2 separate regions of the Homo sapiens genome follow, and region 1 is linked to region 2. The links are contacts of gene promoters, found by promoter capture Hi-C in human tissues and cell types (Jung and others, 2019). All regions are on one chromosome and are shown on one strand. The core of a region is centred on a gene start or on the middle of the fragment in contact, and the rest is flanking DNA. Distances in the headings are between cores, read along the strand shown.

Evidence for each region. Contacts are between HindIII fragments. The study calls those that stand out against the background at their distance.
Region 1: a contact is called between a fragment that was not itself captured here and the fragment with the promoter of ANKRD66 in region 2, in 1 of the 25 tissues and cell types used here (IMR-90 fibroblasts).

Annotation. Positions count from the first base shown.
Region 1 is chr6:46,403,249-46,408,670 of GRCh38, reverse strand. All of the region lies in intron 2 of RCAN2 (regulator of calcineurin 2), which reads left to right. Among named protein-coding and RNA genes, the nearest start is that of RCAN2, 85 kb to the left of the region's middle. RefSeq lists an enhancer at 2,716-3,216. The HindIII fragment of the contact is 6,383 bases long and covers 1-5,164 here.
Region 2 is chr6:46,743,247-46,748,320 of GRCh38, reverse strand. It overlaps ANKRD66 (ankyrin repeat domain 66), which reads right to left and starts at 1,388. Exons shown (of 5, transcript NM_001162435.3): 1 at 1,331-1,388. The HindIII fragment of the contact is 7,862 bases long and covers 1-5,074 here.

The DNA of each region.
Region 1 (5,422 bases), core at 724-3,223, 340 kb after region 2:
AGGCAGAGAGGCCAAGGAGCTGGGTTCCTTCTCTTTGTGGGCTGGCAGCTTTGCTCCGTTTGGGTGGCAGGAATCTGTAGCCAAATCTTGGTCAATGCACTAAGAGTCCTAGTGGCAGTGCCTAGCATCTGTCTTTCACCATTACTAGAAAACAGTAACAATGCTGGGAATATTGCAATGACATAGAGAATCTTCTATATGTGAAGGGCAGCACATCCAGCTCTTCTTTTGCAATATAGAGAAGTCAGGCTAAAGTGCTCAGCTAGTTAGTCCCCGGCATCCAAAGCAGGACAAAGAGAACCCGTGTTGCTGTGTGAGCGACTCGCCAGCTGGTACCATCTGCAGCAGGTTGCCACAAAGAGCCTGCAGTCATCACAGCTGTTTAGCCTCATATCGGATGGCTCTAAACATGTAAACAGGTACCTGAGCAAAATTATGTAGAGCTGAACAGTCGGAGCCGCCCGCAGGGAAGTAATAGGAGCATTGTCGAAGGACTTTAAAAGGCTCTCTCCTTGAGGTATCTGACAGAGGCGCCCTTGAAAACATAAAATATTCGTGATTCCAGAAGGACTCTGACCAGAAAATCCTCAGAAGTTGTTTTATAAGCAGCTTCCCTCCTGAGGGAATAATCATGGATTTTGTAAATATCCATCTCAACATACTGATGACTGAAAAATCAAAGCTGCTGTTTTCCAGATGGACAATTTCAGTGCTGGATGGCATTTGAACTTCCAGTTACTCATTCTGTTTATAATCCTTTGGGGCATGCCAAGTTTTTAATTTTTACGTAGCACTCCATCAATCTTTTTCTTTTTACTCTTTCTCTTTTTGGAGGCACGCTTCTAAAGGTCTGCTGCATAGCAAAATTATGCAATCTCACCTTTAGGCTAAGGTTTGGGTTTCCAAACTTGGTTAAATATAAAATTATAAAATCACCTAAGTACATATTTCCTGACCCTGTTGCAAAGTAGGACATTGATGTATATGAAATAAAATGATGCACAATTAGCCATTTGGAAATGGATTCCCTTCTCTCAACTCTACCTATATTTTTACCACCTCATCCTCCAAGATGCACTCCTTCCATAAAGCAGTTGCCCATAGCAAGACGAGCTCTTTCATTTTTCCAAAGTATGTATTTTTCTGCTTTTACTACTACTGTTTGAATGTGAACTTTTAAAGATGGGATCTTTGCCTGAGTCGGCTTGGAATTTTCCATGGGGACTTGCGTAAAACAACTGTTTTAAAAATGTTTACATCATCACTGGCTTTTTCATGGGAAATCAAGACTTCATTTTTGCTAAGATCTTTGTATGAGTGGTTGCTGCCTGCATAGAAAGGATGTGATTTTTAAAAACAGCAGTATATACTGCTCTTGATTGACTGCATTAGCTTTGTACCTGGTTTCATCTAAATTTAGCTCTACCAAAGGTCCTGAAAGGGAACTCTCCCTGTGTTGTGTTTCTGTGTGCTGATTTTTATCTCCTGTGGTGCTTCTCCCTCTTTTCTACTCCCCTGCCAGGCTATGGCTCCTTTACCAAACAGTTCAGTGATATGAGTTGACTAGGAAAATAGCCCCTGAATGCCTTCCAGGCACTGGGGCACAGTAAGAGTCTCAGTTCCATGCCCCAGGAGCTCAGACTTTGCTTTGGGGTTTTGGAGTCCATTTTAGAAGTCTCTGTCACCTTATCAGACAGGAAAGGTCTGGAGGGACCAGTTTGGGGGTATTTGTTACTGAATCGCCCAGCACATAATTGTGTACCCAGTCTTCTACTGAAATATTGTAATTTTTATCTTGGGGAAGCTATCTGCTACCTGTCTAAGTTTTTGTAACATAAAGAAATGAGAATAAAATATAAAATGTCAGGGATTAAAGGGCTGTCGTTTACACTGAAAGTTCCCTGATAATTTATAGCCAAGCCATTCAAGGAAGTAGCCTCTATAAGTACATAATGGGTCTTTCAAAGTGTTCACTGCCAATTTATGGTAAAGCAAAGGCTTTTCTAAAAGAAGAACATTGAAACCTGTTTCTCTCTGAGTTACTTGTAAGCATTAAGAAAAAAGAGAGCTGACAGAAACATTTTCTTTTAATTGCCCTAAAATTCAAATAGCTGTCCTTGGTCTCCTATCAAAATCATTAATGCCTTGAAGGCTGAGTGATCAGTGAGGACTGAACCAAGGGTTTATTGCTTTGATAAACACATTTGAACCCTAAGAAAGAAATGAAAACAGACCAAAAAATAGCTGCCAGAACTTAATGAGATTTGGAGGAGTGACTTTATTTGGGAAAATTAGGTCATATATATACATTTTAAAATTTGAGTATGCATGGAGACCCTTTTGAGAGGTGACAGCGTGCTGGCACTCCTCAGAGCCCTCGCTTGCTCTCGGCGCCTCCTCTGCCTGGGTTCCCACTTTGGCGGCACTTGAGGGGCCCTTTGGCCCGCCGCTGCACTGTGAGAGCCCCTTTCTGGGCTGGCCAAGGCCAGAGCCAGCTCCCTCAGCTTGCAGGGAGGTGTGGAGGGAGAGGCGCGAGCAGGAACCGGGGCTGCGCGCAGCGCTTGCGGGCCAGCTGGAGTTCTGGGTGGGCGTGGGCTTGGCGGGCCCCGCATTCGGAGCAGCCGGCCGGCCCTGCTGCCCCGGGCAGTGAGGGACTTAGCACCCGGGCCAGTGGCTGCGGAGGGTGTACTGGGTCCCCCAGCAGTGCCAACCCACCGGCGCTGTGCTCGATCTCTTGCCAGGCCTTAGCTGCCTTCCCGCGGGGCAGGGCTCGGGACCTGCAGCCTGCCATGCCTGAGCCTCCCACCCACTCCATGGGCTCCTGTGCGGCCCGAGCCTCCCAGAGGAGCACCACCCCCTGCTCCACGGCGCCCAGTCCCATGGACCACCCAAGGGCTGAGGAGTGCGAGCGCACGGTGCGGGACTGGCAGGCAGCTCCACCTGCAGCCCCGGTGCGAGATCTACTAGGTGAAGCCAGCTGGGCTCCTGAGTCTGGTGGGGACATGGAGTCTTTATGTCTAGCTCAGGGATTGTAAATACACCAATCAGCACCCTGTGTTTAGCTCAAGGTTTGTGAGTGCACCAATCGACACTCTGTATCTAGCTGCTCTGGTGGGGCCTTGGAGAACCTGTGTGTTGAAACTCTGTATCTAACTAATCTGATGGGGACGTGGAGAACCTTTATATCTAGCTCAAGGATTGTAAACGCACCAATCAGTGCCCTGACAAAACAGGCCACTGGGCTCTACCAATCAGCAGGATGTGGGTGGAGCCAGATAAGAGAATAAAAGCAGGCTGCCCAAGCCAGCAGTGGCAACCCGCTCGGGTCCCCTTCCACCCTGTGGAAGCTTTGTTCTTTCCCTCTTTGCAATAACTCTTGCTGCTGATCGCTCTTTGGGTCCACGCTGCTTTTATGAGCTGTAACACTCACGGTGAAGATCTGCAGCTTCACTCCTGTGCCCAGCGAGACCACAAACCCACCAGAAGGAAAAAACTCCGAACACATCTGAACATCAGAAGGGACAGACTCCAGATGCGCCGCCTTAAGAGCTGTAACACTCACCGCGAGGGTCCGCGGCTTCATTCTTGAAGTCGGTGAGATCAAGAACCCGCCAATTCTGGACACGCTTTCATCTATGTTTCCCCAACCCGTTATAAGATAGTAGTGTGAGTCTTAGCAGATTGCAATTTATCAGTGTCATATTTTATTGCAAAATGGTTTGCATTCACCTGTTGTTTAATCTTTACAATACACTCATGAGAACATAATTGGTTTTCTTCAGTACGTGGAAGAAGAAATAAAAACCTGTGGTGCAGTCATATATGGGTTATTTGCTTTTCCTATAGATTTCCATGGGGAAACTGATGTAGCAATGTGTTAAGAAATCTGATGATATCATATAATAAAGATTTCCTGGACTCTGACCTCCATTTCTCTACCAGGTTAGCCTCTATTTATTTATTTTTGTCTTAGTAACATTTAGCATCCAGCAATTTGTTTGTATCACATCTAAAAAGAAATTGGTAGACACAAGATCAATATATTTAGCTTATACCAAGAAATATATTTCTAGGCTATATTAAAGATATACATATTTTATGGTTTCTATTAAATTTCTAGAATAATTTTTGTTCAAACCCACATTTAAGAACTTGATATATAACGTATAGTAAGGTACTCTAGACCTGATTTGAGGATAAATGTTAACAAGAGTAGGGTTTCTACAACTTTAAAATGTTTTCAACAACTTTAATAAGAAGGGCCCCAATAACATGAACAAAAATATATTTAGGTACTTACTTTACCTGTAATGAATTACTTTTATGTAACACCATAGATGTAAATACTTGGTGGCTATAAAATTGTAAAGATTAATTTATCAAGTCAGCATGGTCTATGATCAAACAAGCACTCATTTCCCTCTTCCAAAATCACCTCTTTTTTTTTTTGAGACAGAGTCTTACTCTGTTGCCCACCCTGGAGTGCAATGGTGCAGTCTCAGCTCCCTGCAACCTCAGCCTCCCAGGTTCAAGCGATTCTCCTGCTTCAGCCTCCTGAGTAGCTGGGACTACAGGCACGCACCACCACACCTAGCTAATTTTTGTATTTTTAGTAGAGACGGGATTTCACCATGTTGGCCAGGCTGGTCTTGAACTCCTGACCTTAGGTGATCCACCCTCCTCGACCTCCCAAAGTGTTGGGATTACAGGCGTGAGCCAGCGCACCTGGCCTCCAAATCACCTCTTACACACCTTTCCACCCCACCTCTTATGACACAAATGAGGATCCAACCTCACCTCATCGGCCCAGAACACCTACTGTTTCTGGAACACTCTACAATTATCCAAGGAGTTTTTTATAAAACTTTTTTTTGTAAAACGTTTTTTACTATTAATAACTCACTTTGTGTAGAGATTTATTTTAAACAGCAGGAGCAGGTAAAGCTAGATAGGAATGAAAAATATTTTCTAGATTCTGTCCTTTGTTGGTAGATTCTGCTAACCTTATCTAACCAGCAGGTCTTAAAAAGCCTGAAGATCCAGGATCAAGAATCAACTAACAGCTCTCTGGCTTGCAGAATTTTTTTTTTTTTTTTTTGATACGGAGTTTCGCTCTTGTTGCCCAGGCTGGAGTACAATAGCATGATCTTGGCTCACTATAACCTCCACCTCCCAGGTTCAAGCAATTCTCCTGCCTCAGCCTCCCAAGTAACTGGGATTATAGGCATGTGCCACCATGCCCAGCTAATTTTGTTTTTTTAGCAGAGACAGGGTTTCTCCATGTTGGTCAGGCTGGTCTTGAACTCCTGACCTCAGGTGATCCACCTGCCTCTGCCTCTCAAAGTGCTGGGATTACAGGTGTGAGCCATCGTGCCCAGCCACAGAATTTTTTAAAAATCAAACGTAGGCTGGGCGCGGTGGC
Region 2 (5,074 bases), core at 139-2,638:
AGTGGAAGCATTAGGCAGCAAAATTTATTTCCAGAGAAATGGAAAAGCCGATTCTAAAAAATCATATGGAAATGCAAGGGACCCAGAAGAAAACAATCTTGAAAGAGAGCAAAGTTAGAGGACTCACACTTCCTGATTCCAATAAGTATGCCAGGAAAATTCAGTGACAACATAATAGTCTTTTCAATAAATGATGCTGAGACAACTGGATATCTACAGCTAAAAGAATGAAGTTGGTCCTCTCCCTCACAAAGATGTATTCCTGTGTTTTCCTCTAAGAGTTTTATAGTTTTAAGACTTACTTTTAGGTCTGTGATCCGTTTTGAGTTAATTTTTATACTTGACAACAATTGCCACAAAACAATTGAACATAAATATAAGGGTTTTTTCTAGACTCTCAGATCTACTCCGTTGCTCTAAATATCTATCTTTATGCTAGTACTACACAGTCCTGATTACTGCAGGTTTGTAGTAAGTTTTGAAATGGGAAAGTCTGAGTATTCCAATGAGCTATATACCCAAGAGAAGAAAAACATATATCCATATAAACATTTGTACATGTATGTTCTTAGAAGCATTATTTATAAGAGGCAAAAGTGGAAACATCCCAAAGGTTCATCAATAGATGAATAGATACACAAAATGTGGAATATCCATATAAAGCATTCTTATTTGGCAATAAAAAGGAATGAAGTACTGATACATACTTTATGGATGAACCTTGAAACATGCTAAGTGAAAGAAGCCAGTTACAGAAGACCACATATTGCATACCTCCATGTATGTGGAATGCCCAGAATAAGCAAATCTAGATAGCTAGAATGTAGACTATAGGCAGCCTAGGGCTGCGATGGAGGTTGGGGTGGGGAGTGACTGCTGATAAGTACAGGATTTCTTTTTGGGGTGATGAAATGTTCTTAAATTAGATTAGATGCTTTCACAACTCCAAAAGGCCCAAAACCACTGAATTCTACATTTTAAATGAATCCAGTTTTATGGTATGTGAATTGTATTTTAACAAAGCTGCTTTACAAAAAACTATTAATTAGAAGCTTTCTACAAAACAAAAACAAACACAATTTGTTTGCAGAAAATATATACAACTCACTAGCTTGGCATTGACTACTGAAATTTATCAATTGGTTCCTTTAGTAACCAATCCTTGTGAATTTGATTAAATGCACTTGATTTCCTATCTTTCTGGTAGAGGCACATCTACCATAAAGATAGGAAATCAAGTGCAAAGTAGTCAATAAATATCAGTTTTAATAAATGTGAGTGATTTTTAATAACTATAGTAAATAAGAGAGGGTAACTTAAAAACACTTACTGTCTTGTGTGAAATTTGAGGAGCTCTGTGCTGACAGGCAGTCCTAACCATCCGGAGTGTTGTGTCCATGCCATGGAAACTGACTCCTCCTTCTGCATGAAAGCCAGCCAGTCAACTTCAGCTTCCCTAGGTGTCTGGTGGGGTGGGATTGCCAGTCTGCTTCACACCCTAACTCTTCAGCAGTTCCAGCCATCTTTTTTAGTCCAAATGTGTTGGCCCTTAACAGGTTCTTTCAAATAGTATTTAATGCAAAAAATAAAAGTAAAATAAAATTTAAAAAGCTGTGAATGATTGTCTGCCCACATAATACTGTGACGGAGGTAGGCTGCTTACAGACCACATAACCATAAGAGATGTGAGACCTGTGGGGGAGTGGGGACAGTGTGGGCTCCTCACATTCAGAAGCAGCTGTCAGGTCTTGGGCAAGTTCCTTAACTTTAGAGAGGCTTTTTTCTTTTCTTTTTTTTTTTTCTCACCAATAACATGAAATTTTAACATCTTTTTTTTATAGTGCTATTAAATATGACTAGCTAAAATAATTTAGAAAACACTTGGCACAGGGTAGATGCTTTTACAAAAAGAAGAAGAAGAAGGAGGAGAAGGAGGAGGAGGAGGAGGAGAAGGAGAAGGAGAAGGAGAAGGAGAACCAAATAAAAATTCCTAGGTGCTTTCTTTTTGCTTCCTCTTTTTACCCCTTGCTCTAAGCGAAAATCTACCATATTGATGATGATGCTGGTCAAAAAGACCTTATTTCTTCTTCCTCTCTTTCTACATTTTCCCTGCCTTTTCCCTCTCTCCTTCCTTTTCTTTTTCCCTTTCTCTGAAGGGAGTTCCTCTCTCTCACTCTCTCTCTCTTACTATCTTTCCCACCTCCCTCATTCTCCATCCATTTCTCTCCCTGCCTTTCTTCCCATATGTATTTAGTGAATGCCTTATATCTGTCAAGCACCACTGTACTGGGCCCTGTGAAGATCAAGATACCCATTGTTCCTGTCGTCCTTGAGCTTTTGGTCTAGATAAGAATAAACAAGAAAACAAATAAACGTACACAAGTAGACTCACAACCTGTACGAGTACAATGAACAAACAACATACAATAGCAGAGAACACCAGGAAAGGAGTATGGGCAACTTAGGGGATGACATTTGAGGGTCTGAGGGGAGACCTGGCAGAGCAGAAGAAATCAGGCATCTGAAGAGCTAGGAAGATGACCTAGGTAGAGGGAGGGGAGGAGCTTGGCTTAGGTGAAGAATGAAGAAGAGGAGGATGCAGCTGGTTTATGCAGTGTGGGGCAAGTAGAAGATGAGATCATTCCCGGTCTACTAGGACATGGTAAGGAGTTTGGATTGTATTCCAAGTACAACGAGTAGACATTGGAAGCACTTAAACAACGAAGAAGAATGTGCAACTTTTATTTTCTTAAAAGACTACTTTGACTATTATGTGGAAAATGGAGCAAAAGGAGACAAGATTGAAAGCAGGAAGATTGCTGAGGAGGCTACCGTGGAAGTCCAGACAAGAAAGGATGGTGACTTGGTGAACTGTGGCCATAGAGATGAAAGAAGTGAGTGAAATTAAAAGTTTTTTAGGAGGGAACATTGATGGAAGTTGCCAATGGATTAGACATGAGTACTGGGGGGAAAGAGGGCATCAAGGATGATCCTCAGGTTTCTGGCTTGACGAACCTGGTGGAAGGTGCTCACATTCGTGGTAGGAGGTGACTAGGGTAGGGCCAGGTTTGGGTAAGGGAAGGACAGTATAAATGAAGCGTTCTGTTTCAATGTGTTAAGTTTGAGATACCTATGAGACACCCAAATATCAAGTAGGAATCCAGAGTTCTGTGACTTTGGGCTAAAGATACATATTCTGGAGTTATCAGCACATAGGTGACATTTAAAGATGTAAGAGTATATAAGATAATCTAAGGATAGCAAATGCAGAGAGGAGACCCAAGCTCTGAGGCCCTTAGATCTGGCAGCAAAGAATAATTAGCAAAGGTTATTAAGAAGCACCACTGAGAGGTAGGAGGGAAACCAGGAGAACTGAGTCTTACAGAAGCCAAGAGGAGAAGAATGTGGTTATAAGGAGTAGCTGTCAACCATGTAAAAGGGAGTAGAGTTTAATGTGTAACTATCACAAGCCAGAAAGATGCATATGAGACCCCTTCCCCACCCTCAAAGAGCTCAGTGTCTCATCACCCTTTCTGAGATTTGTAACAGTTCTGGTTCAGCTTGATTTCATTGAACAAATACTTGATGGGTAACTAGTATGTGTTGATGCAAGGGTACAGAAACAGAGGTCTTACCCTCAAAGAGCTTGTAATAAGGGACGATGGTAAAAAGTTGCATGCGTCTGGGGCCTCACCTTCTCTTACACCCTCTCACAGGTTTCCTTCCCATAATAACACGTGTCTGACATCTAATTTCTTGACAAGCCATGAACTGGCCAGAGAGTGAGGCAACCAAAGGGAGAGGCCCCCAGGATTTCCCCAGGATTTTCCACAAGTCAAGAGTGAGCTACTTCCACTATACTAAAAGAAAGAAGAAGAAGAAGAAGAAGAAGAAGAAGAAGAAGAAGAAGAAGAAGAAGAAGAAGAAGAAGAAGAAGAAGAAGAAGAAGAAAAAGAAGAAGAAGAGGAAGAGGAAGAGGAAGAGGAAGAAGAAGAAGGAGAAGGAGAAGGAGAAGGAGAAGGAGAAGAAGAAGGAGAAGGAGAAGGAGAAGAAGAAGAAGAAGAAGAGACAAAAAAGGTGCAAAATATTGTAGTATGTTTTGAATAAAAAAATAAAATTTTGACATAATACACAGGGCTATATAAAAATAAGGCCAAAATGAATCTTGATCTTATGAAAATATTAATTATTTGTTAACTACAAGTAGTAGGGTCTGCTAATGTGATATTCAGTTTGTATGATATATGTTTCTCAGTGCTCTTAGTGTGCCTTTGTGACTGAATGAAGGTCAAAAGTCTACATTCAACAGTCTCTCACCTATCCTGCAACAGGTCACAGAGGCCACCTGGGGAAATATCGATGGGCCAGTCATTGATCTTTGGTCCCATTGGCTCAAGCACTGGGACTAAAGTTTCTGGATAAGGTGACTTCCATGAGACCTTTTTTCCATAGAATCAAAGTCATTTTTAGATCAGGAAGAAACTCTGGAAATAATGAATCCAAAACTCATTTAACAGGTGAGAATATTGAGAGCCATTGACATTAAATTATTTATTTAAAGTAACACTGCTACTGTGTTTTCATTCATCTCTTACCACCTCCCCCACCCCAGCTAAGTTCAACATACAGAATAGATGCACAGCAACTGCATGTTAAGGGTTCAGTTCAGGGTTCAGTGTTCAGGGTTCAGGGTTGAGTGGGTGTGGTCTGGGCAGCACTGCCATCCATGAGCTGCTGACTCATGTTTGGGACACTGAGACTTGATTCTCTCCTACCTCCTTCCAATTCTAAAGAGGATGATAATAATAACAAACCTGTATAGTCTTTGTTCTAAGTACTTTAAAACACATTAACAAATTTATTTCTGTGGGGCAGTTACACTTATTATGCCTACTTTACAGAAGCAAAAACAAAGGCACGTAGTAATCAAGTTACTTCCTTAAGTTTACAAAGCTAGCTGTGGGACAGTTCTGGTAGTTTGGTTGCAATATCCATGTTCTTATCTACTGTGCTACATATTGCCTCTTGAGGTGGAAGTCAAACTTACATGCAAAAGTTAATGAAGTTAAGACTT